4 separate regions of the Homo sapiens genome follow, and all the other regions are linked to region 1. Evidence: promoter capture Hi-C in 16 types of primary human blood cells and fetal thymus (Javierre and others, 2016). All regions are on one chromosome and are shown on one strand. Each heading gives the region's core, a stretch centred on a gene start or on the middle of the fragment in contact. The rest is flanking DNA. Distances are from core to core; before and after follow the strand shown.

The links. The method cuts DNA at HindIII sites, captures the fragments that hold promoters and counts their contacts. A CHiCAGO score of 5 or more calls a contact.
Region 2: a fragment that was not itself captured here is called in contact with the fragment with the promoter of SLAIN1 in region 1 in 1 of 17 cell types (non-activated CD4 T cells); the score reaches 5.6 in non-activated CD4 T cells.
Region 3: a fragment that was not itself captured here is called in contact with the fragment with the promoter of SLAIN1 in region 1 in 1 of 17 cell types (total B cells); the score reaches 5.8 in total B cells.
Region 4: a fragment that was not itself captured here is called in contact with the fragment with the promoter of SLAIN1 in region 1 in 1 of 17 cell types (naive CD4 T cells); the score reaches 5.5 in naive CD4 T cells.

The regions. Positions count from the first base shown.
Region 1 is chr13:77,693,564-77,700,891 of GRCh38, reverse strand. SLAIN1 (SLAIN motif family member 1) reads right to left here and starts at 3,205. Exons shown (of 7, transcript NM_001242868.2): 1 at 2,353-3,205. The coding sequence starts at 2,978. MIR3665 (microRNA 3665) reads left to right here and starts at 2,776; the gene lies at 2,776-2,880. RefSeq lists silencers at 2,138-2,287, 2,448-2,687, 2,888-3,447. The HindIII fragment of the contact is 5,751 bases long and covers 1-5,069 here.
Region 2 is chr13:79,483,004-79,489,899 of GRCh38, reverse strand. The region is part of intron 1 of NDFIP2 (Nedd4 family interacting protein 2); the gene reads right to left. Among named protein-coding and RNA genes, the nearest start is that of NDFIP2-AS1, 5.2 kb to the right of the region's middle. The HindIII fragment of the contact is 1,519 bases long and covers 2,610-4,128 here.
Region 3 is chr13:79,192,238-79,199,142 of GRCh38, reverse strand. No RefSeq gene overlaps it. Among named protein-coding and RNA genes, the nearest start is that of RBM26, 210 kb to the left of the region's middle. RefSeq lists enhancers at 601-1,232, 4,106-4,225, 4,486-4,705, 4,816-4,905. The HindIII fragment of the contact is 7,662 bases long and covers 1-6,905 here.
Region 4 is chr13:79,385,522-79,392,403 of GRCh38, reverse strand. All of the region lies in intron 1 of RBM26 (RNA binding motif protein 26), which reads left to right. It also overlaps the pseudogene RNA5SP33. Among named protein-coding and RNA genes, the nearest start is that of RBM26, 17 kb to the left of the region's middle. The HindIII fragment of the contact is 2,656 bases long and covers 2,597-5,252 here.

The DNA of each region.
Region 1 (7,328 bases), core at 1,956-4,455:
TTTTGTGACCTTATACCTACATCTATGTTTTAGTTTTTTTACAATGAGCATGTAAAACTTGTAGTTTTAAATATTTTTAAAATAAGGTACTATATACCCACTCCAGTTGTTTCTTAATAAACACAGGAAATAAAAATAAGTTGCCATCCTGCAAACATATCAGGGAACCAAATGAACAGCACTCTTATTTCTGAGACCACACTACTGGGACACTATAGTCTGCAGTGATAAAGGAACAGAGTGCTTTGCAAGCATTAACAAGTGGGTTAAACTTTAAAAATTAAACCCTGTTGATATTTTCTTCATCAAAAAGATTTGCAATGCAAACAAAATCTTGATGCATAAAATGTAATAATAAAATTATGTAAATCAGGTAACTTTAAAATTTTTAAGACCATCCCACTAAGATTAATGAACCCTCCTTGTTTTTCCACCTGGAATTCTAATCTCAGGCTTGTTTTCAGGAAGATTCTCTGCCATTTGTCTCTAGAAACATTTGTAAAGCATCAAGGCTTTGATTTATTCACCTGTGTACTTGTTGAATGAAATAGAACCTGCTTCAACTTTGATTTGCTTCAAACCATCTGAAGAGCTAATATACTAATACCACTAAGTGGGTGATTTCTGTTAAAGTTGATTATTTCAATGCTATTTGGACAAAATTAAACTATAAAAAGAAAGCCTAGGTACCAAAATGCTAGTAATAGGATGCTAACTAAATATGACAGAAATCCATTCAAAAGAAGGAAAGTTATTAATAGATTACTAATCTCATATTTACAAACAATATCACAATAAATTTTAAAATGCAAATATTTTAAGCATAAAACTGATCCCATATATCTCCCCATCAAAAATGTAAACAAGTTTCCTTCCACTGTTTACATACATACCATCAGAAAAGGCTAAGTAGGGACTAAATCAACCTAAAATAATTTGAAAGTGGCATAAGGGCTGAGAGTTATTAGTGAAATCTAAGGACCATCATGAGAGCATTTTCTAGTACCACATTCAGACTGAAACTGAGATTACTTTACAGAAATAAGGGTGCAGCTTTGAAAAAATGGCTTAAAGTTCCCAAAAGTGATGAGTTGTTTGATTTTTTTACACCTTGAGCTACCTGCACAGCTGCCAAAAAGTATTAAGGTGGATGATGAATACACCTCTGAAAGGCTTACTGTAACTCCATATATTTTGATTCTTGAATGAAACCAATTAACTAATGTACTTTACAGTTAGAGCTCTCACATGACAGAGTGTAAGGGAAAAGGAACACTGCAGTTCCCAATAGGAAACCAGTAAGGATCTCCATTTCCCAATCCCTTCCATGCAATCATGCAACAGAGACACAAAGAAAGTAATGAAAACACAGCTTGGAAAAACAGAAAGGGTCCTACATAAAAAGGACCTAAAGTAAAGAAGGACTACAGCAAGCCTCCCCCTAAAGTTACTCATTCATGGAAAGTAGACAGTGCTAACCAGATGTCAACTGAATAAATGCTGTCAGCCTCAAGTTTTCTGATAACCAAGCTAAAAAGTTTCCAAGAAATAAGAAAATAAGGCTTCTCTAATCTCACTTTTCTTCTACAGTTTAATTTAAAAAATTAAAGACAGTTCGTTGGTTCCTAGGTAAAAAAATAAATAAATAAATAAAAAAGTCCCTCCCACCTGTTCATTCCACTCCAAGAAAAGTCCTCTTTATTGGCACTATTTATGGGAAAGCCAGTGAGGTCACCCCATTTTAAAAAGCAAGTCAGTCTCTGAAAATAAGATTTCAATGAAAATGCAACGCAAAAGGGCACACGACTGCAAAATTCAAACAGCAAGAACGAACCTCTCTATAAAGAGAGATCCATCACTGCGCGGCTTCCGATGCCACCCGAGGAGGAAGAGCACGCAAATCCTGTCCAGCGTTCGTTTAAAACGAAAGAACAGTAACAGTCGCAGACAGAGGCCAACCCCTACCATCCCCCGTCATCCCTCCGAAAACACTGGGGAAAAGAGCAGCACTGAGCAAAAAGACAAGATGACATGGATTTTGCACTTAATGCTAACGAGGAGCTTGGGACCCAACAATCAGCAAATAGCAGAACCCATGGCAGATGGGGGGAAGGGGGGGCCGGTTCATCCGCAGTCGGAGCGATTAGAAAACAGGTTTCTGCCTTCATGAGAAGCCTCATCGTGGGAAGTGTCACCGCCTGGCTCAACACCTGCTGGGTCGGCCCCTCCGGGAGCCGCGGGGAGTCACCCCGGCTGCCGCGAGGGGACCCCCGTCCGCCCCCCGCCCCCGCTCCCCGGTGCCCGAAGCCCCCGAGGCCAGGGTCTCGGGGAAGGAGCGGAGCCAGGCAGTACCAGGTGTAGTCGTCCTCGTCCCGCCAGGCGGCTACGCTCTCCAGATCCAGCAATTCCACCTCGTCCAGCAGCGTGGGGGGCGGCGAGGGCGGCGCTGCAGCTGCCCCTGGCGGCGTCCCCGCGCCCCCCGGCTCCGGCCCGCCACCGCCCGCGCCGAAGAAGCCTGCTGCCGGCTTGAAGTAGACGAAGGGCGCCTCGGGTGGCTGCGCCAGGCTGCAAAGCAGGGAGGGCGCGGGGCTAGGCAGGCAGAAGGTGCCCGGGAACGCGGGGCTGGAGCCACCGCCGCTGCCACTACCGCTGCCGCCACCGCCCCCCGCGCCCAGCGCCAGCCCGAGCCCCAGGCCCCCTGAGGCCGCGGCGGTGGCCGTGGCGGCCGGGGGGCTCCGAGGACCCAAAGGCTGCAGGCCAGCGGGGGGCGGCGCGGCGGGCGGCGGCGGCGGCAGCAGCAGCAGGTGCGGGGCGGCGGCCGCGCTGGCCGCTCGACTCCGCAGCTGCTCGTTCTGCTTCTCCAGCTTGCGCACCAGCTCCTGCAGCTTCTTCACCTCCAGCTCCGCGTTCACCACCGGCCCGGAGCCCGCTCCAGAGCTGACCCCTGCCGAGGCGCATTTCACCTGCTCCGCCATCATCGTGGGCCCCGAGGGCGCCGCGGCCGCCGGGGAGTGCGCGCCGCCGCGCCGGCTCCTCGGGCCACGGGGAGGCTACGGCTCCTTCCCTGTCGCCCCGGCCTGGGGGGCCGACCACGCGCGGGCTGAGGCCGAGCCGGCGGTTCGCATCAGCACCGGGCCCTCGCCTCCGGCCGCGGCAGCCACCACCGAGCTGATCTGCACATGCTCAGTGCGTCCCTCCAGTCCCCTGGGCGTCGCGGCGGCTCCGGGTTTTAGCCGCGGCCCCGGAGCGGGGCGGGGCAAGAGCGCCGAGGGGGCGGGTGGGGGGGGGGGGGCGGAGAACCGTGGGGAAGCCCACCCAGGGGGCGGGGCCGGCAGCCCGGGTTGGGGCCGGGGAGCCGCACCCACCCTCGCTACCTAATCCCAGGGGCCTGATTGGACCTGGCCTGAACTTTCCCGCCACAAGCACCTCCTCCTGCCGCTTGGTGGGACAGTGAACTGCGCGGGTCTCTGAGGCGGTTGCGGGGACCAGGGGGTTCCCAAAGAAGCAGCTGCAGGTGCTGGCCCTCGAGTAGTGCACCACCGGCCCGCTGGTTTGCTCCCTTCCCAGCTCTCTGTTAGGCTCCGTGACAGCACTTAATAGCCACTGGCTAACGAATCCTATAGAAAACTTAAAGGCTGGGGATCGTTATTCTAAAAACCGAAAAGTGGAGATAGGGGGAACAGAAAGGCTTTGGGACCATGCCACTCATGTTCTCATTGGTAATAGAGAAGCAAAATGGTGGGAGACAGGAGACCGAGAAGAAAGAGAAGAAAGCCCTCTCTCTAAGAGGTAGAGTGGCCAGCTGCTAAGGAGACAAGTGTTTACTTATTTATTCTAAAATAGTCAAATTTGAACTGTTACCATCATTGTTTGTCACAATAAAAGAAGAACTGCTTTTTTTTTCATACTATGTATATTCATGCATTCCCCAAACAAAAGATCTTTGAGCACCTACTCTGTGCCAGGAACCATTCTAAGAGCTCGTGATGCGGGCAATGAGTACAATAGGCAAAAATGGTTATGGGGAGAAATATGAGTAAAATTGTTTAGTGCTCCTTCTATTAAATAATGTGTAAGTTATTAAAGTCAGACTTGCTGGTGGGAAAGCAGAAAACAGAAAACCTCAGAATTCTACCCAATACACTTTAATCTCACCTGCAAACCTGCTATTTCTTACCACTTGGAAAACGAGCAAATCTGCTTTTTTTAAAAGAGGCTTTTAAGCAGAAGAATTTAATCGAGTTGTGTTCAATGAATACTGACTGACTTAGCATTTTGAGTGTTTAACACAATCAGAGGAAAACCTGAGATTATATTATGAGAAAAATCTACACCACTGGTTCTCATCCTCAGATGATATACTATCTAGTGAAAGTCCTTGCTAGGGACTTTACATACCAATCTTTGTGACAATGTACCTCATTTCTCTGGAGCTGCTAACACATCGTATCTATTGGTTTCAGATATGGTTTTGTGTCTTCCTGCTCAGAAACACTTGTATCTTCTCAGTTGTTAATCTACATCTCTAGCTTCTGTGTGCAGGGTGGATGTTCTGCATTTAACATGCTTGGTGAGCGCTTCCATAAATTAGCTAAATGCGTGTGATGACTCCCTTAACCTTCCCTGTGTCCCAGCTTGCTAGCCCACCACCTAACCACCTGTATCACCCATCACCTTTCCAAGTTTCGGTATATCTTTAGGATTTTTTTTGGTTATTACCAAAACCTGGAGAAATGGAGTAATACTACTGAAAGTCCTAAGTAAAGAATCTATTGAAGGATTTTTCCCGCATGCTCAGTGGCAGATGCGGGTAGCAGTATCTCCCTGCAACACAAAGAAAGGGAGACGACAGACACAATGAGAACAAAGAGCTGCTGGGTCCCAGACTAGAGAAAGAAATTGGGAATAGGCACATAATAGTGAAGACAACAAGAATTAAGATGTAAAGAAAAGCCGTCATTTTACTGCACAATTTATATACACTCTAAAGAAGGAGAGAAACAGACAGCCCTTTCCTCCTTCATTTACCCAATATGGTCTATATACATCCAACAAGCAGTAGCCAAGCTTTTGAACCCTGTTTTCTAAGTAATAATTATCATAAAAATCTTTGTTCTTTAAAAAGAAAGCATGCATTGAAATTTAGACATAGAAAAGAGATGAAACATTGTTTTACAATTCTAGTCTGCATTATTCTTCTGAAAAGACAAATTTGCCCTTTTCCTACCTATTTTAAAAGTGTGAAATTATTAATGTCTAAAGAAAATTTAAATCATGTTTTTGCTTTCTCTTAATGCCCCTCTTTTTTTCCCTTCTGTGAATTGCACATGTACACACACCAGAGACACTCAAAATGCACACTGATTTCAAGTTGGTGTCCCCAGGATGCCAGTCTCTTTAACGTATAATTAAAGAGGTTGATGGTGTCAAGGTTTTAATTAAGCAGTCTTGATTTTTTTATTTTGATGCAAATTAGTAAGCTTTGTGTTTTGAAAGAAATTGCATGCTGTAGTTGCTCAATTGTAATGTTTTGATTTTAAATAAAATATGTAGGTGATTTCAGAGGTTTACAAAGAGGATATGAAAAATGAAAGTGCATGTCTCATTTAAAAGTTTATGCTTTAAGCATACATTTGATACACCATAAGGTAATGTGAAACATCCACATATCACACATTCAAAACTGGATAAAGAAATGCATGTTTCTCTCTATTCATTACACTTCAGAACTATCATCACTCTAGTGAATTTTAAGAAAGCACATGAACTTATTTTAATTTGTATTTTTCACATATATTTCTAATACTGTGTATGAACATTAAATAGATCCAGCAACAGAATCGCAAAAGCACCCATAGGTTCTTGAGTATATAAAAATAATTCTCAAAGGAAATCTAGAAACAGCCTGTTATTATCCCAGTTTTACAGATGAGCTTACAAGGTTATGTTACTTGCCCAAGTTCACTCATGAAAATGATGGTTCTTAGCAGTTGCTAGTGGGCCAGAGTAAAATTTCTCCTAGAGTAAGATTCATACGTTTAAATTTTGCGATCAGTGCAGCTGACATACCCTAATATGAGCACTACATTAATTCAAGTTTATAGATCCAATTACTGCAAGAAAAGAAAATAACCTAATGTGTTAAACTAAGATCAAAGATCCCCAACTGTGTTTTCAAGTTGATTTGAACCACAATGTTTGAGTGATTCTTATGCCTCTTCATGGAGATTCCTGTTTATACATACAGAATAGACTCGAACACTGCAGGTCCCACTGCCCATATGCAGTGCCTAGCACAGTGTCTAGCACATGGCAAATAAATACTCAAAAAATTTTAAAAGATAAATGAATCAATAAATAAATCCCCAAGTTCTAGCTGGAATTTAGACAAACACATAATTAGCTATTTCCATAAACCTCATTTATCATATGGTAACAACATAGGAAGACTAGAGGCTTTCTGCAGATCCCATAATAATCAATTATTTTACATCTGACCCAGTTAATAGCCAGGAAAATACTTGCTGCACCTAATGTGTTGCATTTTAATGTAAGGAGATTATGGAAAGAGAAAACAGAAATACAAGAAGTCAGAATTTATTCAAAAAAAATCCCTGTGTGAGTTGCTCCATTCTAACCCCACCCAACTCTACTACTCATATTCATGCCCAAAACCCACATAATTATACCCTATAAGGTCACATGTGGTGGTAGTTATAATAACAATAATAGTAATAATAATCATTCTGTTGATTTGTCAAGCTATACCTGTAAGAGCCCTTTAGAATAAACACTCATTACATGTCTATTATTTTCAAGTGCTAGATGAGTTTTGAGAAGTGAGTAAGAAAACAGTGTCTCCACCATCAAGACCTTATCTAGTTGGAGAAAGAAGCATATAAGCAACTAACTATAACACAAAAATTAGTGTTATGTATCATGAAGAAAATATAAATAAACAGCATAGGGAGTGATCAAGAAGGAGCAATTTTGGCTAAAAATTTTGGGAAGGCCTCAAGTAGAAAGCAAACATTATTTCAACCAGGCACGGAGGCATGTGTCTGTAGTCCCAGCTACTCAGGGGGCTGAGAAAGGAGGATTGCTAGAGCCCAGGAATTCAAGGCCAGCTTGGGGAACATAGTGATATTTCATCTCTAAAAGAAAGAGAGAGAGAGGAGGAAAGGCAGGCAGGCGAGGGAGGAAGAGAAGGCAAGAAGAAAGAAAGAGAAGGGAAGAAAAGAAAGGAAGGAAGGAGAAAGAGGGAGGGAGGAAGGAAGGAAGGAAGGAAGGAAGGAAGGAAGGAAGGAAGGAAGGAAGGAATCCATTAT
Region 2 (6,896 bases), core at 2,120-4,619, 1.8 Mb before region 1:
GTAGGTGGACCTAACTGCTTTCATGAAACAATTATAAACTAGAGTTATAAATGACAGTTCCATTCTTCTATGAAATCCAGCATAAAATTTGTTTCTGTTTTGTCCCATTCCACTCTAGGCCATCCCCTTAACTTTGCTGCAGCCATACAGCTTTCCTCCTATATCTTCAATCAACAAACTCATTTCCACTACAGGTTATTAACACATTTACAATACTCATCAACTAGAACTAGATCTTCACATTTCAATCAAGTCTGCGTGACTGTCACAACTTAAGAGTGGATGGAGTTACCTGACTAAGCTGATCCCTATCTACTAAGGGGTCAAATTGACTGGTGTGGCACATCATCTCCAAAGATGGCCACTATCACATTCTCCCCTCCATGTATGTGCAAGTTTCTCCCCCACTGACAGATGGAATTCATTTCTTCTCCCTTTGAATTTGGGGGGTCTTACAACTGCTCTGACCAATAGGATACTGCAAAAATGACATTATGAATTTCCAAGCCCAGGCCTTAAGAATGGCAGCTTCCTCTTCCTTCTATGCTGTGGGAAGCCAAGGTCACATCAAGAGGGCACACAAAGGAGAACTGAGATGCTGAAGTCAATAGTTCCAGCTGAGCTTCCAGAAAATAGACAACATCAACTGCAGCCAAGTGAGTGAGCCATCTTGGAAATTCCAACCCAACCAAGCCCCAAAATGGCTCCAGTCCTAGCTAACACTATGTGGAGTAGAATCAACAATCTCCTGATCACACTCAACCCATGGAATCTTAAAAGAAAATAAATACTTGTATTTAGAGATGTTTGTTACACAGCAATATAAAACTAAAACACCCAAGTCTGAATACCAGCTCCATCACAGCTGGGCCTATTATTTAACTTGTTTGTGTCTCATGTTTCTCACCTGCAAATTGAGGATAATGACATTATCTACTTCATAGAAGTGGAAGGATTAAGCGTGCTAATATGTACAAAGCATTTAGCAGCATTTTATTAATACAATGTAAGTACTGTTCTATTATTGCTATTTCATAATTGATAGAATTTATTATTTATTCCATCAACTTGCTTTATTTTCTTCAAAGAATTTATTACTATCTGACATTAGGCTTACTTATCTATCTGCACTTCTCCACCAAAGCATGAGCCATGAGACAAAAACTTAACTGTCTTATTAACCAACACCTAAAACAGAAGCAGACAGAAGTACTATAATATATAGCTATTATATATCAGATGAATGAGTTATAGGATATTTGTTTCATAATCAATAATGATATCTAAAAACTGCTCCCTTACCTTTAGCATAAATCTGACAAAGGGCACTCAAAAACATAAGCTATAAATTATAATATGGTATTTTCATGATACAATTCCAATACATTTATTTGCCACTACACATATAGTACTCCAGTATTAGATCATGTACTGCTCAAATGTGCCTAAGCAAAGGCTACCATTTGATTCAGCACTGTTCAGGTGTGTACTCATTTGTATAATTTTTTTTTAATGAGCTAAACTCAACCAAATAACGTATTTACAGTTAATATCAAGACATGCACAAAAATAGCAAGAGAAATTTTAATCTGGGGTATGTTTAAAAGCAATTTACCCTGGCAACCCAAATTGACATAATACTGGTCTTCAAGTTATAAGCAACAACTTGGTATATAACACATTTGAGTATTGGTATACAACTTGGTGTACTACTTAGTATACAACATATTTGAGTGTACATTTCCTCAATTAGTTTTTTCAACATACAAAGATCTATTTTAAAGATGAAATAAAAATCAGACATTGACAGAACCCTAACACACCTTTGAGAAAAAGCAGTAGTCTAGAAGGTTAGAAAGACACACAAACACATAATTCAGTATAACAAGTTATCCTAACTTTCTTCTGCCTTGATGCTGATGACAGAGGTCAGAAACTCTCTCTACCTCCTTCTTTCAATTATAGATTCGAAGGAGTTTTTACATTTAAGAACAGGATTTTATGAGGCAAACAAACTAGAGAGAGTACAGAACTTCAGATGAGAAATCAGTGCATAAAAATTAAGAAGACAGAGATATGTCACTGTACAGGTAGGGAGGGCCCATTCAAAAAAACTTGTATGCTAAGAACAGGAATTTTAAACTTCAAAAATTTAATAAACCCAGAATGGTTAAAATTAAAAAGATTGACAGCAGCAGAATGTTTGCAAGTGTGTGGAGCAACCAAAACTTCATACATTGATGGTGGAAGTGTAAAATGGCATAATGACTTTGGAAAAAAGTCTGGTGGTTTCTTATAAAATTGAAACATACACCTACCCTATTACTCAGTAATTCCACCCATGGAAAATAAAAACATATGTCCACAAAAAGATTTGTACAAGAATATTCATTCCTATCAGCTTTACAGAAAGATTTGTACAAGAATATAACAGCTTTACTCATAACAGCAAAAGAAAACTAAAAACCCAAATATCAACAGCAATGGATAAACTGCAGTGTATTCATTCGATTTATACGATGAAAACTATATGATAAAAAGGGATGAGCTACTGATATACACAAAAACATGGATCAATCTAAAAAACTTCATGCTGAATGAAAGAAGCTTTGTAGACTACATGCTGTATGATTCTAGAATAGGCAAAACTAGGTAATTTGAAGTGAAAAAATCAGAACAGTCACCTGGGGGGTATGAATTGATCTAGTAAGGATAATAAGGGAACTTTCTAGGGTGATGGTAATATTCTGTATCAGGTCATTAAATTTATCTGTAAAGGGCAGTGGTACAAACTGAATGTTTGTGTCTCTCCAAAATGTATATGTTGAAACCCTAATCGCCAGAGTGATGTTATTTGAAGTTAGAGCCTATAGGAGGTAATTAGGTTTAGATGACGTCATGAGGGTGGGGTCCCTATGATGGATGAGTGTCTGTGCTAACATCAGAGAGCGTACTTACACAAATCTAGATGGTATATATAGCCTACTACATACTATGCCGTATGGTCTAGCCTATTGCTCCTAGACTACAAACCTGTACAGCACGTTATTGTATTGAATACTGCAGGCAACTGTAAAACAACAGTATTTATCTAAACACATCTTACAGGACCCCAGTATATAAGGTCCCTCATTGAATGAAAAGACATTATGCAGTACATGAATGTCCTCAACCCTACCACCGTAAATGAATGGGCATGGCTGTGTGCCAATAAAATTTATTTACAAAACCAGGAGTTGGACCACAGTTTGCTGATCTCTGCTCTACATGTCAAAGGTGGTTTGGGTTACATGAGTATCTGAATTTGCCAAAGTTCATCCACTAGGCCATGTAAGATTTGTGCATTTTAATATACATTGATTTTACCTCAAAGAAAAAGAACCATAAACAAATATTAAAATGTAGGCTAATGATAAACATGTGGCTTGCATGCAAGTACACTGATCCCTGCAACTTACTTTGAAAGGATCGAAAAATAGATGGATTGATAAATACACAACAATACAAATAGAATAAACTGTTAACTGTAGAGCCCACAATTTGTATGGAGGTTAACTGTACAATTCTTTCAACTTTTTTAAAAATTTGGAAGTTTTAATATTAAATGTTATTAAATGTTGGGGGCAGATTCAGTAAGGGGCCACTGAAGGTTTTTGAGCAAAAGAACAAAAAATTTATACAGGTTGAGTATCCCTTATTTAAAATGCTTGGGACCAGAAGTGTTTTGGATTTCAGATTTTTTTTGGATTTTGGAATATTGCATATACGTAATGAAATATCTTGGGAATGGGACCCAAAGATGAACGTGACTATATGTGCATGAAACAAAGTTGTGTTGAATACGTACATGTGGTATTTTCCACTTGTGATATCATGTGGTGTTCAAAAAGTTTCAGATTTGGGGGCATTTTAGATTTCGGGTTTTTGGATTAGGAATACTCAACCTATATTCTACAAATATGATTCACACGATGCAAACAATTCCTGAAGGATGGTCAAATGAGGAAGAAAGTAACAGACAATATTCCATGCCAGGTAATGCATCAATATTTAAGGAGAATGGATTAAGTACAAAAAGAGTTCACTAAGACAAGAAAAGTCAGAAAAAGTCAAGAGAAGTAGAAAGCTTCTTATTAACTGTATCAGGAATAAGGACGGAGTTTCAAAGAACATTCATACTGTCAGTATAACAGAGAAATCAAGCAACATGAGAACTGAAAAGTAGCTATCAGACTATGCAGTTGGGTAACCTTGATTATGTAAAAGAGGTGTGGTAAGAATATAAGCCAGATAAAGTATACTGATAAATTCAAAAGAAACAAACAAGAGACGATCAAAGGAATAAGGCTGGCAAGAAAAGGTGACAACTAGAGAGTAAGGAAAGGTAAGAGCCTGCAACACTTCTTTCCAGTGGAAAATGAAATGAGTATAACTAAAACTCATTATACATTATCTCATCCAGAACATGTACTATTCAGTAAGGCAGTCAGCCATGGGCCTGAATGTCCCTGCACATTCTTGCTGAGTGTGTGTAAAGCTTTCCATTTCCTCATACTGAGCTGTTTCTTCTAATAAGTTACACAGGGAACAAAGATCAGGCAACCACAGTGTGTAACTGCCATCCCAGGAGAAGGTGAACTAGTTTGTTTGTTGTTTGCTAAGATATTTGCTGCTTGCTTTAAAAAAAAAAGAGCTGCACCCTTGGTTCTGAGTTTCTGAGTTCCTCAGCTGTGATGCAAACCCACTGCACGAATCCATATGGACACCCAGCCCCTCTGTGGAATTTGGTAGCTAGGAAAACCTACACAAATATGCTGATGTTCGTGCTGCTTGCTATGTCATGAGTAATGATCAGTCTTTAACCTGGAGGTCACCTCTTTTTTGCCAGAAACCGTGAAACATTAACACACTAACTTATTAGCTTGTAAAAAGGGTACTTATTTATCATGTACCAGTCTTTACATGTTTTACACATGTATTATATTATTTCTCACAATAATCTTTGTCAGGTAGATACTAATATAAGGAAACTGAGGCTTCAAGATGTAAAGTAACTAAGCAAGGTCTCACAAATTGCAAACAGCACAATCTAATATATAAGCCCAGATGGCTTTAAAACCTGTAGGTTTTTTACCCGTTAATAGTCAGGCCTCCTTCAAGCCTCCTTCTCAGCTAATTTATCGAGGGCAACTCTAATTCCCCAGATACAAGAGCAAAGTACTCAGATCTTTGTAGAATGAATACTTCAAATTATGTTCCATAGAAAATTGATATTGTAGAAATGTTAACATAATCTTAAAATTTTAAAAACAAAGAACAAAACAAAACAAAGATTAGGAAGAGCTAGGTTAAAGAAATCCAAATCACTGTCTTTACTGCAGAATTTTTCATGGTTTTAATATGCTAATGTATTATAAATCTTCCAGTTACACTTACTATCATTCTGAAATACAGTTTGGGAAATTACTGCTACAATCAACACTGCCAATTTAACTTGTACACAGAATAAGAAGTCAGCTTGGTACAGGTACAATCTTAGAAGTCAGCTTGGTACAGGTACATAATCCTTTAAAATAGAGAACTTTGGCCGGGCTCTGTGGCTCACACCTGTAATCCCAGCACTTTGAGAGGCCAAGGCGGGCAGATTATTTGAGGTCAGGAGTTCGAGACCAGCCTGGCCAACATGCTGAAACCCCATCTCTACTAAAATACAAAAATTAGCCAGGTGTGGTGCACCACACTTGTAGTCCCAGTGACTCAGGAGGCTGAGGCAGGAAAATCACTTGAACCCAGGAGGCGGATGTTGCAGTGAGCCGAGATCACGCCACTGCACTCCAGCCTGAGTGACAGACACTCCATCTCAAAAAATAAAAATAAATAAATAAATAAATAATAAAATAACGAACATCAAAGTTAGAATGTGGTCTAGCAGCTGCAAGCCAAGTCAACTTCGTCATAGTTAGCAACACTGCTCATTTACTAACAAACAAAACTGAATTTCCCATAAAATTACGTGTCATACCTGGCTTTTTCTGAAATTAGAAGGGTAACAATCAAGAATTTTTGTAGCTCTAAACTGTTATCCACTGCTTTACTCAATAAATTTTGGATGCTTTTAACAATGAAAGGAAAGAAGAGATCACAGAAAAAGCAGTTTCTAGATAAAGCTTGTGCATTGGCTAATGGTAGTAAGTCCTTCTGATGACCCTGAGCATCACTGCTAGCTTTCCAGTATGAAAAGCTGTTTTTAAACTCTTTAAGTAAGTGAAAAATTAACATTGCATACCATCTCACCCCTAAGTATACTTGCCTATCTCCTGACTTAGTCATCCCTTAACATTCAACAACTCAAGTGGTTTATTGCTCCAGTTTATTAAGCATTCCAGTTTTCCCAAAAACTGAGCTAAAGGCAACCACAAAATAGTTGTGTTCATCATATAAGCCAGAGCTGAAGACTGATCCCTAGTTTAAAAAGTCTATTGAAAATGTCAATTCAGCTTTTTCTCTGGCATACACTGATGTTATTAATCAGGCCATTATAAACAAAACCAAGAGTTATACTAGATAGGTTAAATGACTACGTAAATTGTGTAACTCTAACACTAACATTGCCTTACAATGTTAGTTGTAAGTTGCCTTACAAGGAGAACAGATCGATGTCCTACCTAAAGTACTACCTTTAGAGGGACTGGTAGGCTTTATCTTTAGAAGAACTGATTTTTGCCCTCTGTTCTCAAGGAACATTCAAAGTCTATGTAGGACACATCGTCAGTTTGAAAAAAACGAGGGGAGGGGGCAGCAATAAAATATGCCCATTTATTTTGAAAGGAGTTGTTGGGAAAACAAATATCTTAAAACTGAGAGCTACATAAATTAACAGTGTTTTGGGTAGTGAC
Region 3 (6,905 bases), core at 1,893-4,392, 1.5 Mb before region 1:
AGCCGGAATTTCATTGTAACATCAATTAGATTGAATTGTATTATATAAGCAAAGGTTATTTGCAGAGCTCCCAGTGACAAGAACAGCATTATTCTGAAATTCTCTGTTGGTTTGTGCAGCAGACTTCCCATGGGAATTCGGGGCTCATGTTCCTATTCCCTTCAGGGAATGCGCAAGGGTATGAGACTGGATTTAGTGTAGGACTACCTGAATGAGAGGTAGACATTTTCTTGAAAAGGATGGTAAAATCTGGAATACTTTCAAAAAAACTGATGGAAAGGTAATTTTCCCTGTTAAAGACTCCTAAACAGACAAACAAATGAAGTTGCAAGAGACTATGAGTTTACCATCCAAACAGAATGCTTCAAAACATCCCCTAAAATGTATATAACTGCTTAGCCATGGAAATTCTTATTGCATAGTTTTTTTCTCTGTATCTGTCATTGGCAGAGTAAGGATGTATTGGATGGAATAAATGTAATTGAATGTATTTCCAAGGCCCATCAGACTTTCAAGCATGTATAGCCATTACTTAAATGCATTCTAATAATCTAAAAGTAATAAAGGTCACAGACTCCACTCATATGAACAAACATCACCTTTCTTTGCTCCACATGGATCTGTGTCTCCCTTTGCTGGCACAGGACTCTTTCCACTAAATGGCCTAATTGTAGCTCAGGTATCTCCAGTATTTCTTGGGCACATAGAGAAAAGAACTCATTAATTGTACTAACTAGTGTATTAATTAGGGCTAATTACAGTGGCCTTTTCTAGCTTGCCTACTATTGCAAATAGAAATTCAGTATGGGGACCTCAAATGTAAACTTAGGGTTCAATGACCCTGAATTAAATACAAAGTCATGTTAATTTCACCAATATAAAATGTAAATTCAGTGTATACCAAACTGTACCCTGTCATGAAGGCTTCACAAAGCAGAGAAAGGAGACAATGGATCCTGTTTTGTTTCTCATTTGGCCCTTGCTGGGTTTACTTTCATCCTGCTGATCCTGTAGGCAGCTGTGGGAGAGAGAAGGGCTTAGGACCTGGAGGAGGATACCTGGGTTTGAGCCCAGCTCTGAAATTCGTTATTCACGTGACCTTGGGAATATCACTCAAACTTTCTGAGTCTCAGTTTCTTGACCTGTAACCTGGAGACTCAATCATTTTCACCATTGGAAGGCTGGGAAGATTAGATATGTACAAGTTTTCATAAACTAAAATGTGTACTAGCCATATAAGGAATTTTAATACTTATTACATAATGACATTAATTTATATCTTATAAGATATTCTGATAAAATTTGGGAGAGCAACCCACCAGATTTATTTCTTTCAAAGGTGTCCTGGATGCCTATGGTGGTAAATAAGTAATGATGATAATAAATAAATCCAGGAATTAAGTATTTATGTATAATACTTTACAACTTCATTTGGTGAAGCATTTTTCATGCCAACTGTATCCCCAAACAGATTACATTCAATGAAGACTTACAGTGATAAGCAATAAATACTAGCAGTGAGAGACAGACATTGAGATAAACAGGCAGCAAAAAGTGCTTTTCAGCTAAATTCTGAAAAGAAATGAAGAATTTAGGGTTGCAGAGACCCAGGAGAGATGTCACAACAGGCAGACACTTTTGGAGATAAAGTTCTCACACTCAATTTTCTTAGTGAAAGGCCTGAGGCACGAAGTACCAAAGTGTTGAACTTCTGCCTGGGTCATCTCACAGGCGGCGGGTCTTTACTGTGGGAAGAAAGAAACAATATTAAGTCTGAGAGAGGTGAATTTCAACTTCATGGGGATTATGAAGCAGGAAAATCTTTTGTAAATGGCTTTGCTTTGATCTATATGGACCAGAAGAGAACTACGTATTGGTATTTTATTGTCCATAAGCTACCCAAAAAGTGTACCTGCAGTGTTCATCACTAAAAATCAGCTGGAAATTTGATTTGCAGTCTAGAGTAAGGATTTTCAAGTTAGTTCAGGATACACTGATTTCTGATTCTTCCATGGGTTTGCCTTTGGCTCAGTCAGTTTTGACGCAATAGATGGGAGTGATTTCCTTAAATGTTAATTTGACTTTTTAGTAGCCATGTGCATAACAGAAGCACTCTGAGTAACACTATGTGTTGTGTGTGTGTTTGTATTAGTCAGTTCTCATGCTGCTAATAGAGACATATCCGAGACTAGGCAATTTATAAAGGAAAGAGGTTTAATTGACTCACAGTTCCACATGGCTGGGGAGGCCTCACAATCATGACAGAAGGCAAATGAGGAGCAATGCCACGTCTTACATGGTGGCAAGCAATAGAGCTTGTGCAGGGAATTTTCCTTTATAAAGCCATCAGATCTTGTGAGACTTATTCACTGTCATGAAAGCAGCATGAGGGTAACCACCCCCATGATTCAATTACCTCCCACAAGGTCCCTCCCATGGCACAAGGGGATTATGGGAACTACAATTCAAGATGAGATTTGCGTGGGGACACAGCCAATCCATATCAGTGTTTGAAAGACAAAGTGGTGGCATACACAGCAGCCTCTCGAGGAGGGTACTAAAATGAGTTTCTATTTCTATATCACACTGACTGAGATTGGGGAAGATAAGAGTAGGGTAAGGTGAGCAAGCTCAAAGACTGAGGAAATGTTGCTTGGTATGAGAAATTTTACTCAGATAACCTCAGGAGTGTATAAAGAAGAGTTATTGTATTCTACTCACAAAGTGTTTTTGTTGATGATGGCCTGATTGGAAGATGAATTACCACCCGCCAATGAAAGGCAACCTTACAAAACCATTTGAAACCCAACTATCTCATGTTATATTGGGTTGTGGATAGTACAGTTCAACTCCAACAGGATACCTTTGGCTATGTGGGTGCATGTTGACAGCTTTAAGGAGGGCCACTAAAGTGTCTTTCATAGTGCTAAAAGCACCTCAAAATGAGTAATTTATTTTGGAAAAGCATATTAGGAGAGAAAAAATGTTTCATCTAGAAGCACTGATATGAGGAAGAGACTAAATAAATGAATGAAGAAGTTAGTGCAGAGTAGAGACAAGCATGAATTGGTTTCACAGCTGCTTCTGATATGGCCAATAAAAAAGATAAAGAAGAAAAAGAATCAAGCAGCCAGGGAAAGGTCAGCTCCTTAAGGGCAGGCCTCCTGCCTAGCAGTACACAGTTATCCCCAGTGCCTAGAATATGGTAGGCACATGGTAATCTCACATTTTGCAGTAAAAATAAATACATATGTACAGGAGCTAAAAGTATATATTAAGAAGGAAGTTGCTTGACATTAGATAGAGTCTTGATTATTTTAGCTCCATGATAGGGGTTGTCTTTGACAAAATTTCCTCTTTTTTACAGTTGTCATCTAGGTAGCTATCTCTATTGGTGGTGTTCTTTAATAGGTGTGGGAGAGAAGCCTCAAGGGACAGAGTGATCTGAAGTTGTTACATTAAATAGGTTTCCCAGGCAAAGCAAGAAATGGCCTGGAGTCTGCTCCTGGTTACAACTTTAATCATTACATACAAGCTGGCTGTGAAAATCCATCTGAATGATGAACAAAATACTTTAATCTGGACTTCATCATGTTACTTTTGCTACTTTGGAGTTCTGAATTCATCATAAGAATGTGAAAGATTTACCTGCAATGGCAGTTCCCTCGAATTCCAGTAAATCCATGAAAGAATGTGTTGCTTCATGGAATGGATGAGAGAGGGAAAACATTCTCTCAGGGAATCAGAAATAGGAGAGATTTGGGTGGCTGGGGGTGGAAGGGCAGTTCAGGTTCCAGAAAACAGAGCTATTGGAATTTGGATGAGGGTTTTAAAACATGATAAGGCCTATCAGGAGTCATAGGTTGATAGCAATCAATGAGTAAAATGACTCCTTGTGTTTGGAAAAGAAAATCAAGCAGACTTGTGGAAGTCTGTGGTCTTGGATGCAAAAGGAAGCTAAAGCTACAATAGTCATTAAGTCAATGGAAGTGAGAAGGAACTTTTAGAAAATTTGATTAAGACAGATAAGGGACTGGATTCCAGGAATTAGGTTAAGAGAATGACAGTACCCCTCAGAATATAAGGTTTGTCTAATTATTCTGATATAAGGATTATTAGTTATAAAGACTATTCTCATCATGTAGGTGGAGGACCTGGTGCCCCAATACTACAGGCACAACAGCGTGGAGATGGTTCCTCTCTGCAGAGCCCTGCATTCAGCCGCATGCCTAGGACAGTGGAAAGTGCAGGGATGTTCTTTTGCCTGTTTACCTGTGACAAGATCATCAAGTTTCTCAGCTCAGAGGGGACACTTAGAGTGGGGGAATGGGTAAGACTTTTCTGCTATAAGTGAGGAAAAGGAAGAAATGAGGAAAATGACAGAACAATCTATTCCAGGGTCAACTCTAGTATATATTATAGGAGAATTGTATTTCTTGCAAATAAAAGCAGAGACCTTCTGATGTTTGTCTTTTACTTTAAGATAAGAGAAACTCAATTGACTCTTCCTACTCTAGATCTTAAATACACACAAGGAAGGTGTCCTGAGCGAGGCACTCATGAGAAGTTAGCTAAAGTCATTTTCAGATTTAATGATTGCAGGTGTCATAATGAGTGTGACATCTCTCTAGTTCTTTAAATAGCACTGCGGATGTTCTGTGGTTAGACTGGCTGCCCCAAATTACCCAGAAGTGAAACTGCTTTTTTGGTGATGCCTATGTCTGATCCATAACCTCCATCTTTTCTGTATCTTTTTTTTTCTCTTAAGATAACACAGCACATTTGAGGATGCTTAAAGTATTTGAGTGGTGCTACTGGCTATAATTAAGTTCTTTCAGCCTTTCCATTACAAATTCTTCTTTCCGAGGTTTAATATCTCAGAGACTTCTAATCCCACTGGGCCAAACTTAGTATAGAAGCTGTCAGCAGAAATGCAAATTTTTTTGCCCACCCCTAAATATTTCTAATCAAACAATTTTTTTCCCCTCATTACAGCAAAGGTATAAGGAAATAGGTTTCAGGCACTTTTGAAAAGCAAGAAAAAAAGTAATCTAAGCACAAAATCTGAGAAAAATGCATAAGAATGCAAAACCTGTCTAGTTTCGGGGTAGGTGGGCAAATATTGAAGACATACAGCATCAGAGAATTTTTGCCTTGTGTTTTTTAGCTAAATTCAAGATGTAACCATGAAATAAACTGACAGCATATTGTTTGTTGGTTTGAAATTTTGATTTTTTGTTTTAAGGAGAAGTCCGTGTTACTTCTGTGAAAATTTAAGATGAGCAAATAATTCCAATATACCCACATAACTTGGGCTATGGTTGAAATTTTTTTTTTATCTTTTCCTTTGTGTCTTGAAGATAATTGAATGAAAATCATTTGTAGCATTATTGGTTTATTTAAAAAGGTTTAAAAATTAAACATTTTATTTTTATTTTTTGTTGTGGTAAATAATGCATAACATGAAATTTAGCACCTTAGTCATTTCTAAGTGTACAGTTTAGTACTGTTAACTATATTCATGTTGTTGTATAGCCAATCTCCAGAACTTTTCATCTTGCAAAACTGGCACTCTGTACTTATTCTGTTTCGATGAAGTTGAGTACACATAGAAACCTCATATAAGTGAAGTCGAGCAGTATTTGTCTTTTCATGATGGGCTAATTTCAATTGGCAGGATGTCCTCAAGGTTCATTTGTGTTGTAGCATGTGTCAGAACTTCCTTCCTTTTCAAGGCTGAATATTATTAACATTTGACTTTTTGGATGCTTATTCCATATTGCCTTTTTTTATTATTAATCAAAAGATTCTATTTCTTAAGTAGAAGTTCTTGTTATGTCCTCAAATTATTTCATAATTATTAAAATCCTTCTTTTGGGGTTTTAACTTATTAGTTTAAGGGTACAGGTCTTTGAACTTGGCTTTACTGCTTAAGAGAATGAACATCTTTTTGCAGCCAGTTTTCTAGATAGTGAAAGATGGACCTTCTAAGGTCCTTGGCAGTGGTTGTTTGCCCCTAGGTCAGAGCAGTCCTAATCGTGTCTTGTCCTTGTCCCTGTTAGCACTGCTATTGCACAGCCATTCCCCATGCTGTCTCTTTGGGGGAATTTTGCTCTCCCATATCACATTTCTGACTATTCTAATCTCTTCGACACTTCTAAATGTGGGTGTCATGTTCTCATCTACCCCTAAAGCCATTTCTATTGCGTTCTGTAACCTTTCTTCTCAGTTCATCTTCTTTCTTCTGCCTCCTAGAGCCTCTCTAATATTTCTTGTTTTTTCGAGAAAAGATTAATACTTTCAAAATAGGTGAGCCTTTTTATTCTCTTTCTCATTGAACTCCTACCATCTGGTACAATTCCATCCAACTCTCCCCCCAATTTATGGAATACTTCTGGCTATCAGACTGATATGCAAAGACAATCGGACACTCCTTGCATTCTTGAGGGGATCAGAAACTAGTGGGCAGATGAATATGCAGACAATCCCAAGGCACTGTAATAGAAAAAGGGGAGAGAAGAGCCTTGTGATTTCTGTGAGGAGCACAGGTGAGGAAGAACTGCCCTATGTAGGAAAATGAGGTCAGATCTTATCAATAAGACAACATTTAAAAAATCAGTCTTAAAGAATGACTACCAGTTAGCTGGAAAAAAATACTATGTTTTTGGCCTAGTCTCTCTCCAATTATTTTATTTAGTAAAAATATTCTCTGAAATGCACAGACCCCAAATTCCATCCCACCACAAAGACACACTGGGTACAATCCGTAACTTCTCTCAGGTGCATTTGTTATTTGCCATTACCTTGATGCCACTATATTTTCTATAAGGACATTGTATTTTGAGGTCTTCTGAGTCTAAAATGTTAAAGAATCCTGAGGGATCTGAAAAGCTGAATTCTGATGA
Region 4 (6,882 bases), core at 2,675-5,174, 1.7 Mb before region 1:
AATTTAAGAAAGTAAGCTTTTTTCCTAAAAAGTAATGGTTACATCATAAATAATATATAATGTAATTATATATAATTACTAATTATATATTACCGTTATACAATTAATTATATATTTTATATATAATTAATATATAATTATATAATAATTATGTATTATTGTATAATATATAATTATATAATAATTATGTATTATTGTATAATATATAATTATATAATAATTATGTATTATTGTATAATATATAATTATATAATAATTATGTATTATTGTATAATATATAATTATATAATTATGTATTGTATAATACATTATTATATAATTATGTATTATTGTATAATACATAATTATATAATAATGTATTGTATAATATATAATTATATAATAATGTATAATATATAATTATATAATAATGTATTGCATAATATATAATTATATAATAATTATGTATTCTTGTATAATATATAATTATATATAGTGTTACGTATTATATATTTTTTCCTGTTGATTGTTCATACACTCCCTAGTTTTTCTGATACATTGTTGGTTTCTTAAAAAGTTGATTTGTAGGAGCTTTTCATGTATTAGGGAAATTGTGATATGATCTGCAACTTTCTCTTTCCCATACTGACATTTATGTTTTGATTCTGCTTATGGTAATTTTTCTAATATAGAAATGCTTCGGCTGGGTGCGGTGGCTCACGCCTGTAATCCCAGCACTTTGGGAGGCTGAGGTGGGTGGATCATTTGAGTTCAAGAGTTCGAGACCAGCCTGGCCAACATGGTGAAACCATGTCTCTACTAAAAATATAAAAATCAGCCTGGTGTTGTGGTGGGCGCCTGTAATCCCAGCTACAGGGGAAGCTGAAGCAGGAGAATTGCTTGAACCCAGGAGGTGGTGGTTGCAGTGACGCTAGATGGCGCCACCGCACTCCAGCCTGAGCTACAGAACAAGACTGTCTCAAAAAAACACACACACAAAAAGAAATGCTTCATTTTATGTAGTTGAATTTATCCTTTATTTCATGGGGTTTGGATTTTCTATTGTAGTCATAGTCAGAAAAACTTTCCCTATTTTGAGATGAAGTTACTGCCAGTGATATTATAGCGAAAGCTATCACTAGTTGTGCTTACTGTATGCCAGCATACTAATTGGGTTACCAGTCAATTAATGAACTCTAATTGACTATATGCGTGCTACAAATCATACTGTGACTTACCACGAGAAGTCAGTGAGGCAAAATGGAAACCAGTCACTGTATTTTCTCAAGTAGTATCATCCATGTCCTTTATGATCTTATTTTTAAAGAAAATCCAGGTATGAAGTATGGATATAGCCTTATTTATGTATTTTTATTCAGATGCACACAAAGTTATCTCTATAAAACTTGACTGCATAATCCATGTTTTCCCAGGGATTTGAGATGCAACCTTAAATAGATACTAAGTTCTTATGTGTATTTGGGTTTATTCTAGACTTTTTATATATTGATCTATATCTTTTACACTATTCTCTTATTTTTGGTGATGAAAGGCTAGTCCTCTGTCAATAATGTTCATTTTTAGAATTTTCCTGCCTGGTTTTCCTTGACTGCCCTTGCCCTACAACTTTATTTTGAAAATTTTGAATATACAGAAAAGTTGAAAGAATTTTACAGTGACATACCCGTCATTGAGATTCTACCATTAACATTTTAGTGTGCTTGTCACTATTATCCTTTGGTTCATTTCAGAGTAAATCGCAGATGTCAGTGCACTTACCCCTAAAGCATGCATACCATGCTTTACTTCAGTACTTTAGTTTTATTTTAATTTTAGAATACAGATACAATCAAGTGCACAGATCTTAAGTGTACCATTTTATAGTTTTTACAAGTGTATACATTTTTGTAACCCAGTCACCTGTTAAGATAACATTACCCTTGCCCTGGAAAATTTACTCATTTCTTTTCCCATGCCCCCACCTACCTCTAGAAGAAAGCAGTGTTCTGCCTTTTTTACACTATATATTAGTATTACCTGTTGTAGAACTTTTCTGTCAGTGGAATCAGAGTATTATTTTGAGCAAGGCTTTAATGTGCCTGAGATTTATCCATATTATTGCATATATCTGTAGTTTGCTTCTTTGTATTGCTGAGTAGTATTCTGTTGTCAGAATCATGGTATATACAGTAGTTAACAATAATAATGCTCTCATTATTGTTAATTTGACACAATTTCTTAAGTCTTACTAATTAAAAATAGTACATGATGGTTCTAATAAAAATTTAAACAGTGTAGAAATAGAAACCAAAAATCAGTCTTCTTATTCCTTTCTGATTCTCATATATAAACTTGTAAACATATATCTGTAAAAATATGCATGTGCCACCTATTGATGAATATACATGACTTTTTTTCATAGATAGAATCATTTATATGTTGCTACTACAACTAGTATTTCCAGTAACACTGCACATCATCCCATAAAAGTATACTGTTAGGTAGATTCCTATTCTTTCCAGTGGTTCCATAGAATTCCATTATGTGAGTGTATTGCACTTTGTTTAAATAGTGCTTTATTTATGATGTAATTATTACTTTTTAGGGGAAAAAAGCTTATTTTCTTGAATTATTTAAGTACTTCCTGTATGTAGTCAAGGAAAACTTACCAAAAGACTTTGACTTGAAAAGCAAAATCCTCTTTACGTTTCCCATCCTTGAACTTTTACTGTTAATATGTAGTTTTTATGCCGTTACAATGGCTGAAATCCAGTGTTTTTGCATGACCAAATCATCTACGGCCATACCACTCTGAACACCCCTGATCTCATCTAACTTGGAAGGCAAGCAGGATTAGGCTTGGTTAGTACATGGATGAGAGACTATAGTTTATGTAACCATTCTGTTCTTATTTGTCATTTAGGTTGTTTGCTTTTTTCTTTGGCTTTCCAAATAACTATTTTTTTTCCCGTTTCTTTTTTTCTTTAACAACGCAACTAGTACACTGTTTTTGACTTTTTAAATAACTCTGCAATGAACATCTTCCTCTATGTGTATGTTTGCTTTATTCTCATTAGTAGAAGTTATTTTCTAGAAGTCAGCTAATGCTGCTGTTGGAGGCTTTCTTAGTATTAAGTATACTTTCTTGGTTTAAATCTAGTACTTCAGAGGAACTTGTTTTATGATGTTATGTATTGCATTATAAGTAGTTCCTCATTTTGTTTTTTGTTTCAAAGAGCCATTTTAAAAGAAGTTACGGGAGATAGTGTGTCAGTGTAAATTCTAGCCTACTTTTGAGTTCTGTATATCTCTGCTCCATACATTCTGCAATTATTTATTTTCCATTTTACAGGCAATTTAAAAGTTGATAAAAAAATTTATAAAATCTTAAATGAAGTCACTTATAAATGAAAAGTGTTTGAATGATTATAGATTCCACATAGCATTAATATATACTTCAGCCGGTCGTTTATTTGTTGCTCCTTGTAATAGTTATAAATGCAATAACAGGTACTTTGAGGCCTGTAACTTGTGATCTTTTTTGGACATATTTTGTAAGAAATTGTCATTGTGACGTTTCTTATTTGTTACTATTACTTTCTTTAATGATCTCAAGTGCTTATCTTACCTTTTTAAAAAGTTTAATTTTTTATAGTAGCAAGCAGACTGAAATAGGTAGAACTTATTTTTGAAAACTGCTTTATAAACTTGCAGTTACCAGTCTCTAAAGTTGTTAATGCACTTACCTAAATTGAATCATGTTAAGTTTGGATGCCTGTGATGACATTAAACAGCCAAATTGGAGGAACAGTTAAGTTCTGTGAGAATACATGAAGTTTGGAGGAATCGTGAGTATACATTGTGATTAGGAAAAGGCTCTTGAATCCACCTAGCCTCTGTGGGTTTCAGATGTAGAGAAAGTTTTATTGCTATACTGAAGTGATTGGACAATTTTGGAGCTATATTATGAGATGTGGGGAAGGTTAAAACAGGAGTTACTTGATCCAGTCTCTTTTTAAGAATGTTGCTTGCTGGGCGAGGTGGCTCACGCCTATAGTCCCAGCACTTTGGGAGGCCCAAGTGGGTGGATCACCTGAGGTCAGAAGTTCGAGACCAGCCTGGCCACCATGGTGAAACCCCATCTCTACTTAAAATACAAAAATTAGCCAGACGTGGTGGTACATGCCTGTAATCCCAGCTACTGGGGAGGCTGAGGCAGGAGAATTGCTTGAACCCGGGAGGCGGAGGTTGCAGTCAGCTGAGATCGCCACTGCATTCCAGTTTATGGCATGTAGAGGTTTGATTAGATAAAACGTTTTGAAGACAAAGGAAGACTAGTTAGCTATTTCTTAGTCTAGTTTAAGAGTGAGTTGTGAAATGCCTGAATTTAGATTGCTATAATGTTGGTAATTAGAAGCTCCTTCTCAATACATTGTGATTTGTTCTAGGGAAAAGGCAGGCATAGTTATCTGTAATACCAATGGGAGAAACAGTCAAACATACCAGTAGTTGCTATGTAACAGTGGTAGAAACAATGTACAGAAATTATATAGGTCTGGCAATTTAGGAGAAATACACAAAATGTTTCTATTAAGTAGAATTTATTTATGCCTTCTAAGGGCTCAAAATTTGGTCATGAGTGCTGAGGAAATGGGATTCTGTGACTCTTTAGAAAGACATAAAGAAAAAAAATTCTCTTGAAGATTCTAATGCTATGTACTAAATTATTTTGAAATTCAGTTAACTAAAAGTTACTGGAATGGGAAGGGAGAAAGAGCGCAAGGTGGTGAAAGCCAAATATTTTTTCACAAAAATGACCCACTTTTTCAGATCGTATGGTTCAGTGCCTTTTTTTTTTTTTTAAATGAGTAAACTAAAGCCTAGAGAAATAAAATGCTAACGCAGGATTATATAACTAGTGAATAAAGCAGAAATAACACCAGACTGGAAATCTGAAAATTGTTTTTTGGAGTACAGTTCAGTGCTTTTCTTCAATACCAGACTGCTTCATGGAAAGGCTAACAATTTGGCTTGGGACAAAGTAGGTTTGAAAGGTAATATAGGACTTAAAATATAGCAACCAGAATTTAACTAAAGTATATTTTTAGGGGTGATTATAGGCATTTTTTTTTATCATAGTTCATTATTTAGTAATCCCTTAACGATTGTTAGGGTGCTTGGCAGGTTAATAAAGTGTGTCTTATTTGTAATTATATTTATTTGTAATTATTTCTAGTTTGGCAAGTCAGCTGTTAGATGAAAAAACTGAAGCTTAGTTTGCTTAGTCTTAAGATTCATGACCGGAAAAGTGTCCATAATAATTTCTCATTTTTAAAGATAAATTTTGGCATGACTGTGGTAACCGTATCAGAAAATTTTGGTAGCAATGTTAGAGAAAGACTTAGAAGTGAATCTCTAACATATATAACCACACAGCATTAGCCAGACCTTTTAAAGAAATATGAGAAAAAGGTTAAAGGCTTAATCGACTCAGCCAAATTTATCCAACAGGATGATAGAACTAGGTTTTTTGTATTTCTAGTTTTAGTGCTATTTCTTTTGGATAATTTTGCCTTTTTGGTTTTAAAAGAAAATGTTCACTAGCCTCTGCTCTCTCATTTTAGTAACCAGAGGGATGGGTTACCTGAGATCTGTTGTTAACTAGACAGAATGTGAGTAATGGAGTGGGGGTGGCCTCTAGAACCAGTCTTTTCTCAGATAACTCAATTCTTCCTCAACTATGAATAGGAATTAAAAAAAAAAAAACCCTAAATATGAAGGTTAGTCATGGGTTACCATATTGCAGATACACCTTTTTTTTTTTTTTTTTTTTAAAGAGAGAGTTCTGTGGCTTGATGTATAACCATAATTATAACCACAACTATCTGGGCTTAATTTGTCATTTGGGCTGCTGCTGTTTGCACTGAACAGTACAAACTTTTACTTTGGTTTTGTTATCTGACTATTGGGTCTTTGACACTTAATGGGCACTTCTTTTTTTTTTTTTATTTAATTTAGAAGTTATGTAACTTCTAAAGCTATGGTTCTCAAGTGTGATATCAGGATTCCTGGAATTTCCTGAGAGCCTTTCATGGTGTCTATGAGGTCCTTGTTTTTCCAACTATGTATCTGTGTCAGGTCAGGTTTTCTTCATGTACTTCAACCAGTATAACATGTCATAACAGACTGAATGTAAAAACAGATGTAAGAATCGGCCTGTCTTCTATTAAGCCAAACAAAGGTATTTGCAAAAAGTGTAAAACTTGGTCACTCTTCTCAGAAAATTTGTATTTTATTTTGGAAAAATAGTTTTTGTGTTTTTTTTTTTAATTTTAAAAATATGGTATTTAATTTCAGGTGAGGCTATTTATCATAGAGCTCTGCCTATCCCTGACCTGCAGTGGGGATATGACCTAAATGGGGAAGATGAGTCATTTTCAGAGGCCAGTACGGATGCTGGGGGAGAGAAGAGTAGCCTCCTTTTTCTGGTTTCACTAGCTGTTAGAATAATGTAAGCTGGGAACTGCTTGGGGGCCATCATTTTTGCCACACATAGAGAGCATTTCTGAAAGTGAAAAATGCAGAATAGAGAGTCCTGGTGATATGATTTGAACTCCTGGATTCAGAAAAAAAGCCAGCCCCACATATGGGCTTCCTGTTTGTTTGCACATAAATTCTTCTTCTGATTACTCAAACAAATATAGAGAGTTTTTATGCTAGTTTTAATGGATTTATTATATCAAACTAAACTAAATTTTTTCTCAATTTTAATTCTTGATAAATATTGATATAACTCTTTTAAATAAAAAGCTGTTTGGAGTGGTTCCTATTTTTAAAGCATAGAGGGCTCCTGATACCAAAAAGTTTGAGAACCACTGTTCTAAAAGTAAGATGGAATCATGC